Regions from separate parts of the Homo sapiens genome. Here region 1 is linked to region 2. Evidence: promoter capture Hi-C in human tissues and cell types (Jung and others, 2019). All regions are on one chromosome and are shown on one strand. Each heading gives the region's core, a stretch centred on a gene start or on the middle of the fragment in contact. The rest is flanking DNA. Distances are from core to core; before and after follow the strand shown.

The links. Contacts are between HindIII fragments. The study calls those that stand out against the background at their distance.
Region 1: a fragment that was not itself captured here is called in contact with the fragment with the promoter of ART5 in region 2 in 1 of the 25 tissues and cell types used here (aorta).

The regions. Positions count from the first base shown.
Region 1 is chr11:3,846,398-3,850,751 of GRCh38, reverse strand. No RefSeq gene overlaps it. Among named protein-coding and RNA genes, the nearest start is that of STIM1-AS1, 7.0 kb to the left of the region's middle. The HindIII fragment of the contact is 4,728 bases long and covers 1-4,354 here.
Region 2 is chr11:3,640,246-3,644,486 of GRCh38, reverse strand. ART5 (ADP-ribosyltransferase 5) reads left to right here and starts at 2,495. Exons shown (of 4, transcript NM_053017.5): 1 at 2,495-2,681; 2 at 4,116-4,241. The coding sequence starts at 2,625. RefSeq lists a silencer at 1,886-1,935 and an enhancer at 2,075-2,788. The HindIII fragment of the contact is 5,679 bases long and covers 1-3,847 here.

The DNA of each region.
Region 1 (4,354 bases), core at 1,046-3,545, 210 kb before region 2:
GGTGTGGTGGCACGTGCCTGTAATCCCAGCTACTCGGGAGGCTGAGGCAGGAGAATCGCTTGAACCCAGAAGGCAGAGGTTGCAGAGAGCCAAGATTGCACCACTGCATTCCAGCCTTGGTGACAGAGCGAGCCATCTCAAAAAAAAAAAAAAAAAAAACCTGGGGGGTGAGTATGGTACAATAAGATATTTTGACAGAGAGAGGAGAGAGAGAGACCACAATTGATCTATTTTATTATTAGTTATTTTTGTTCATCTCTTACTGTGTACAATTTATAAATTAAGCTTTATCATAGGTATGTGTATAGGAAAACAATATATATAGAGTTTGATACTATATGCAGTTTCACGCATCCACTGGGGTCTTGGAATACATTCTCCATGGATAAGAGGGGACTACTTTACTCATTTTAAAGATGAAGAAACTGAGGCTCAGGAGATAAAGTGGTAGGTGAGAGCCAAGCTTGCTTTCTTCTTTGGGATTCCCTCCCCATCCTTCAAGTCTCAGCTCAAATGAAATAAAAGCATCCATGCCCTGACCAGTGATGTTACCTTACCATAAATCAAGGGTTATGATTTTTAGCAAAACTCAAAAGCTCCACCCCACTTTAACACCTTGCCTGACTTGCCCTGTCTCTTCAGTCTTCTTCTATACCTTAGAGTACTTATGTAATTTGATTATGATTTTTTTTTTTTTTTTTGAGACAGGGTCTTTCTCTGTTACTCAGGCTGGAGTGCAGTAGTATGATCATGGCTTACTACAGCCTTAACCTCCTGGACTTAAGTGAGTTTTATTTTTTGAATAGGAATATTCTTTTTTATTTATTTATTTATTTATTTATTTTTAGAGACAGGTTCTCACTCTGTTGCCCAGGCTAAAGTGCAGTGGTGCAATTATAGTTCACTGCAGCATTGAATTCCTGGACTCGAGAGATCCTCCCACCTCAGTCTCCCGAGTAGCTGCGTCTACAGGCACATGCCACCATGCGCAGCTGAATTATGATTATTTAATAAGCGTATATCTTCTACATTAGCCTCTGAGCTCATCAAGGGCTGCATTTTATCCATCTTTATATTTTCACAGTCTAGGTTGCCCATTACATAGCTGGTACTCAATAAACGTTTCGCTAAGTGAATAAATGAATGATGTGTGTTCTGTACAGCAGCATAACTGTCCTTTCTTCACACCGCAGAGTTTCTGGTTACCAATAGCTTTCATTCAGAAAATGAGGGAGACTTTGCTAGAAATAATAATTGAGAGTCCAAAATCTGCTCAGAAAAATTTAGGAATCCCCTAGTTTGGGTTGCATTATTAGTAGCGCTCCCTGGTGTCCAAAAATGGAAAGTATAGCTATCGCTGAGAAATTGCCCAAGGTCTGGGTGGGTAGAGAGTGAGGAGAGACCTTAGCTTCTAGCAACAGCTTTTCCTAGGCTAGTTTCACACAGAGAATCATCTCCTCATTCAGAGTGAGTTCTAGAATCTTGCTTGCAATGTTCATTCATTCATTTAACACCTACTGAGCACCTATTTGTAACAACTTAGTTCCTACTCTCAAAGAGGTCCATTTTTACGGGGAAAAAAATGGGGTGAGTGTGTGTGTGTGTGTGTGTGTGTGTGTGTGTGTGTGTGTAGAGATAATTAGTACATGTCAATATGTCTCGAGAGGGATTGGTACAGGAATAGGTGAGGGAGCACAGAGGAAGGACAAGTAACAGTCTAAAGCAGTCAGGCTGTGCAGACTCACAGATTGGGGTGTGTGGGTGAGTAAGTGGGGTTCTAGGATCAGACTGCCTAGATTCACATCCAAGCAATGCTGTGTGACTCTGGGCCAGTTACTCAATCTCTCTGACCTCCGATTCCTCCATCTGAAAAAAGTAGGATCCTGTAAGGCTTAGATGAGTTCATAAGTGTAAAACAATTGGCACAGTGCTTCGCGTAGAGTAATGTGCTCAAAAATGTTGGCTCTTATTCTGCAAGGAATTTCAGAGCCGTTAAAGAATTACACCAAGATCAGGTAACTGTGATTTGCAGAAATTATTCTGGCAATAGTGCTGAGAAAGTATTGGAAAAGGTAGAAGCTGGAAACAAGTGACATGGTCTGACAGACCTGTACTGATAACCCAGCTCACCGCTGTGTGACCTTGGACAAGACCTGAAGTCTAATTTGGACAATAATGACGGGAATAGAAAAGTGTTCAGATTTGCGAAATATTTGGTGATTGATTAGATGACCAGGTGAGCAGGCAAGACAGATCAAGTTTAAATAATAGCTGTGGTTTTGGAAGATACTATTGTCTGCTAGATATTATGCTAAACGTGCTACATTCAATCATTCATTCAACCAATATTTACTGAGCAAAGTATTTTCATACCAGGCACTGTTCTAGGCACTAGGAATATAGCACTAAGTAAAACAAGCAAAACTTCTTGCCCTCCTGGAGCTTACATGTTATCTCATATAATGAATATCCATAGCAATCCTGAGGTGTAACACAATTTAGATTCATCTTACAAAGGAAATTAAAACTGACACGTTCAATTTTGCTATCTGTGAGGTTTTTTGTTTTGTTTTGTGTTGTTTTTGTTTTTGCTTTTGCTATTGACAGAGTCTTGCTCTATCACCCAGGCTGAAGTGAAATTGCATGATCTTGGCTCACTGCAACCTCCACCTCCCTGGTTCAAGTAATTCTCCTGCCTCAGCCTCCGAGTAGCTGGAATTACAGGTGCACACCACCATGCCCGGCTAATTTTTGTACTTTTTGTTTTAGTAGAAACAAGATTTCACCATACTGGTCAGGCTGATCTTGAACTCCTGACCTCAGGTGATCCACCCACCTCGGCCTCCCAAAATGCTGGGATTACAGGCGTGAGCCACCTCACCTGGCCTATCTGTGAGTATTCTTATCTGTAAAATTGAAATAATATTACCTGCCTTATAGACTTGTTATATTTATTGAGTTAATACGTGTAAAGCATATGTAAAACATATCTAAGTTGTTTTCCTAAATTATTATTCAGCAACTTCTCCAGGATCACACAGCAAGTAAATGGCAAAGATGAGAATTGGGGAAAATTTCCCCAGGGAATCCCGAATCAACTGGGCAGCTATAGTTGGGTTGCTCTTAGAATACCAGGACTGAGGAAGGAGAACTTTCCCAGAGGGGCATTATGCCAGATGATGTGGGTACTACCACTGGGCTTAGAAAATGTCAAAGATGCAAAGCTGTCCTGGAGGCTAACGGGACAACTATTGTTCTGCCTGCCTGGGAGAAGGGACCCTCTTGGAAAATAGGGCATGGCCATTGTCCACACACCCTTCATCCATTTAGTTCCTTGAGAGAGTCAAGAACAAAAGATTGGCCAGATGTGGTGGCTCACGCCTGTAATCCCAGCACTTTGGGAGGCTGAGGCAGGCAGATCACTTGAGGTCAAGAGTTCAAGACCAGCCTGGCCAACATGGTGAAACCCCATCTCTACTAAAAATACAAAAATTAGCCGTCGTGGTGGTGCTCGTCTGTAGTCCCAGCTACTCGGGAGGCTGAGGCAGGAGAATGGCTTGAACCTGGGAGGTGGAGGTTGCAGTGAGTCGAGACTGCGCCACTGCACTCCAGCCTAGGCGACAGAGCATGACTCCATCTCCAAAACAAAAGAAAAAAAATAAAAAAAGAAAAAAGATCAGAGGTTGTGACTCTAGAACTTTGTTTAATTTGTCACCTCTTTTTAGTTCTTTCTGCTGTCTCCTGTCTGGCCCATCAAAGCCCACAAAATGGGATATTGGACTTGTTTTGGGGGGCAGCAATAAAGAGGAGTAATGAAAAGGAGGCCAGTCACAGGGGCTCATGCCTGTAATCCCAGCACTTTGGGAGGCCGAAGCAGGTGGATCACTTGAGGTTAGGAGTTCAAGACCAGCCTTGCCAACATGGTGAAACCCCATCTCTACTAAAAATACAAAAAAGTAGCCAGGCGGGTGGCAGGCAACTGTAATCTCAGCTACTTAGGAGGTTGAGGTAGGAGGATCGTTGGAACCCGGGAGGTGGAGGCTGCAGTGAGCTGAGATCGTGCCATTGCACTCCAACCTGGGCTACAGGCCAAAATTCCATCTCAAAAAATAAAAAATAAAATAAAGGCCACGCACGGTGGCTCACGCCTGTAATCCCAGCACTTTGGGAGGCCCAGGTGGGCGGATCACCTGAGGTCGGGAGTTCGAGACCAGCCTGGCCAACATGGTGAAACCCTGTCTCTACTAAAAATAGAAAAAGTTAGCTGGGCGTGGTGGTGCATGCCTGTAATTCCAGCTAATCAGGAGGCTGAGGCAGGAGAATTGCTTGAATCTAGGAGGCAGAGGTTGCAGTG
Region 2 (4,241 bases), core at 1,246-3,745:
AGGTGGACTGAAGCACTGGGGATCCAGGCTGGGACAACTGCCTCCTCACTGGCTGTGGTCCTGTACTCTGGTCAGCCAAGGAGGAGGAAGAGAGGAGGAAGCTTCAGCACCCCGACCTCAGAGAGCGTCTCCTTAGATTTTGTACCTTTCACACAAACACTGAGACTTAGCTAAGGTGCCAGGAGAGATTCGAACTAAGGAGGCTGTATTCTGAGTCCCAGTTCCAGCTCTGACTTACCAGTGATCTTGCAGGACTTCTTAATGCTATACTTAGGATCCCTGCCCAATGACTAGTTTTTTTTTTTAGATGGAGTCTCGCTCTGTCACCAGGCTGGAGTGCAGTGGCGCAATCTTGGCTCACTGTAACCTCTGCCTCTCGGGTTCAAGCGATTCTCCTGCCTCAGCCTCCTGAATAGCTGGGACTACAGGCGCCTGCCACCACGCCCAGCTAATTTTTGTATTTTTAGTAGAGATGGGGTTTCACCATGTTGGCCAGGATGGTCTCGATCTCTTGACCTCGTGATCCGCCTGCCTCGGCCTCCCAAAGTGCTGGGATTACAGGTGTGAGCCACCGCACCCGGCCCCCAATGACTAGATTTGAATCCATCTCTTGGGGCCTTATTTTGGGTTCCAGGTCCTGGGATGGGAGAAGCAATCCCCCAAAGCCAGAGGGTGGAGAGGGACAAAGCAGTGATTCCAATACATCTGGTCTCGGGTCATCCCAGCAGGCCAAGCTGTCCTCAGGTGGTATCTTTTCAAGCAACTGCAAACACTCAACTTCCTCCAGAGAGTGGGCAGGCAGGATATATAGGCAAATGCTGTTTTTCACCATGATGGGAAACGGTAGGATGATTCCTTATTTTAGAATCTGGGAGGGCTTTGGGATGGCTAGACTCATAGAAGGGGGCAAAAGAACTTGTCCTGGAGCTGTTTTTCTTTCTTTCTTTCTTTTTTCTTTTTTTTTTTTTTTGAGATGGAGTTTCGCCCTTTTGCCCAGGCTGGAGTGCAGTGGCTCCATCTCAGCTCACTGCAATCTCCACCTTCCGGTTTCAGGCGATTCTCCTGCCTCAGCCACCCAAGTAGCTGGGATTACAGGCCCCTGCCACCACGCCCGGCTAATCTTTGTTGGCCAGGCTGGTCCCGAACTCCTGACCTCGTGATCCTCCCACTTCAGCCTCCCAAAGTGCTGGGATTACAGGCGGGAGCCACTGCGCCCTGCCCTGGAGCTGTTTTTCTAACAAGCACTCAGAAGCACCTCCCTCCCCACCCTCCTCCAAGCCTGGACCCACCGTATGTCTTCCCGTTTGGTCTACAGAAAGGATTCTGGGAGATAGCAGGATTCTAGGTGGAGGAAACTTTTTATTTGGCTGACACTCTGAGGGGATGGGGGGACAGGGATGGGGAAAATTAATGAGCCAGACCAGGATGGATTCCTTTGGGTAGCTCTAATCTTTCGTGCCCACCTCAGCCCCAGCAGGCAGCATTTCTCAAATCCTAGCTTTCGGCGACCCTCCGGCCGCTGGGGGAAGGAGGGGTGACAACCCCACCTCCTCCTGGCTCTGGCTGCTAGGAAGCTCTTCCCTGAGTTACCAATTCCTCCGCTGGCCCCTTCTCCCATGACCTCTGACGGGGCATCCAAAACTCAGAGCCAGGTTATTTATAGATAAGCCCAGAGGAGGTGGGGGAAAGGCCAGTGTTTACAAACATGGGTCACCTGAGTCTGAGCGGCCACGAGAGCGGTCTGGGGGAGGGGCGAGACCGGACCCTGTGGATCTGCGACCAAGGGCTCTGTCTCTGGCCCAACCCCACTGAAGGCGAATGGGGAGAGGGCCCAGAGCAGGCAGGGAGTGGGCGCTGCTCAGATGCTGGAGCACGTGGCCCAGGGTGTGGGCCAAATGCAAACTGTATGCAAATCGCAGTGCTCCGGGGGCGACCTCTCGGCCGGCGGGACCCCCGCGGGGCCCCTGGCCTGGTGGGCCGGGGACCAGGGGCCGACCGGGTCAGGGCCCGCCTGAGGGAGAGGCCGAGTCTCACAAGTTTCCTCCCCATCACTCACAGCCAAAGAGGGTCCCGCAGAAAGACCCCGCAGGCCTTGAGAAAGGGAATTGCTCCTCAGTCCCTGCCCTGGCGCGCCCGCTCCCGGCCCCGCGTGCGGCGCTGGGAAAGGGGTGTCGGGTTACCAGCGCGGGGGCTACAGTTAGCCTCGAGAACCTTTGCTTTCAGCCGGACTCCGGACTCCTCCGGGGACAGCGCAGCGCCCGCCAGAGCCCTCGGCGCTCCCTCCCGCTGGCGGCTTCCGCAGCCTTCAAGTGGGTCCTCCGCCCCCGGCCCTCCCCTCTCAGGCGGAGCCAAACTGCGGCCCCGCCTTTACAGTCTCGGAAAGGTCCCCAGACTGGAGGCTCTGAGGAAGGGGTGTGGGGAGTCGGGGGCGGAGACTTGGGGCGGGGGGCGGGCAATAAACTCCCAGGCCCCGCCCACGCCCCGCCGGGGCCCTAATCCTGGACCCGGGATCCCGTGCGCCTGGAGACAGGGTCCAGATCTGCCTCCAGCCCCTCGAAACCAGGACTCCAGCACCTCTGGTCCCGCCCTCACCCGGACCCCTGGCCCTCACGTCTCCTCCAGGGATGGCGCTGGCGGCTTTGATGATCGCCCTCGGCAGCCTCGGCCTCCACACCTGGCAGGTAACTCCAGGAACCATCTCCTAGCCCCAAGGGGGACATTAAGGGACAGACCCTGAGGAAGTGGACCCGGGGCTGACTCCTCACATCCCTCTCCCAGGGACTCTTCCCTAGGATTCCACTCTTAACTCTCTTCCTCTCAGGAACCTCCATCTCTGCAGGGAGCCCCAAGTTCCCATTCTGTCTCCTAGAACCCCCATCTCCATCCCTCTCTGGATGCCTCCAACGTTCTCCTCCCCACCTCTCATCTCCCAGCGCAGGCACAGCCCGGCAAAGCCTCCTTGGGTTACCTGTGTGCTGCAGTCCTGGCAGCCCGTCCCAACCAAGGCTTGGCCTCCCCACCACCCCTACCCCAAATGTGGGTACAGAGCAGGGGAGGACTCAGGCGTCTCAGAGCTCACAGTGATTTGGTGTGGTGGCTGAGCACCTACCTGCAAGGGCTTCCTGCTGGATGAGAGGGAAAGAGAGCCCGAGGAGAATGGGGCTGGGGGTTAGGCAGCTGGACACTGGCTGTGTGTAATATTTGCACATCACCTGCCTGCCAGATCTTACAGCCGGAAAAGTGCTTGATAGTCATCTAGTCCCACCTCCCACCGACTGCAAGAACCTTTCTAATGACAGGATGACCCCTTTTAGGTTGTACAGAAGTAATGCTCTTTATGCTGTCTTCATAATAACTGTGAGGTTGGAAGTATCCTCAAGTCCAGAAAAGTTATGACACTTGCCCAAGGCCTCACAGCTAATAGGTGGTAAAGTCAAGATTTCAGCCTGCGCGCGGTGGCTCACTCCTGTAATCCCAGCACTTTGGGAGGCTGAGGCTGGTGGATCACTTGAGGTCAGGAGTTCGAGACCAGCCTGACCAACATGGTGAAACCCTGTCTCTACTAAAAATACAAAAAATTAGCTGGGCGTGGTATTGCGCACCTGTAATCCTAGCTACTTGGGAGGCTGAGAGAGGAGAATTGCTTGAACCCGGGAGGCAGAGGTTGCAGTGAGCCAAGATCGTGCCATTGTACTCCGGCCTGGGCAACAGAGCGAGACTTCGTCTCAAAGAAACAAACACAAAAACAAATTAGCCAGGCATGGTGGCATGCACAGGTAATCCCAGTTAGTTGGGAGGCTGAGGTGGGAGAATCACTCCAACCTGGGAGGTGGCGCTTGCAGTGAGCCGAGATCTCACCACTGCACTCCAGCCTGGGCAACAGAGCAAGACTCCATCAAAAAAAAAAAAAAAAAAAAAAGATTTCAGTCCATGTCTGACTGACTCCAGTGCCTGTGTTATTTAAGCCTCTTATTGGGCCCTTGCCAAATTGCATATACCTGATATTTAGGGATAGAAATGAGATTCTGTGTTTCTGGATGGGTTTGCCCCCAGGACCCATGTCCAGTGCTCTGAACTTATGCTCTTTTCGGTGTGGCACCTCTTTTGCTCCACAGGCCCAGGCTGTTCCCATCCTGCCCCTGGGCCTGGCTCCAGACACCTTTGACGATACCTATGTGGGTTGTGCAGAGGAGATGGAGGAGAAGGCAGCCCCCCTGCTAAAGGAGGAAATGGCCCACCAT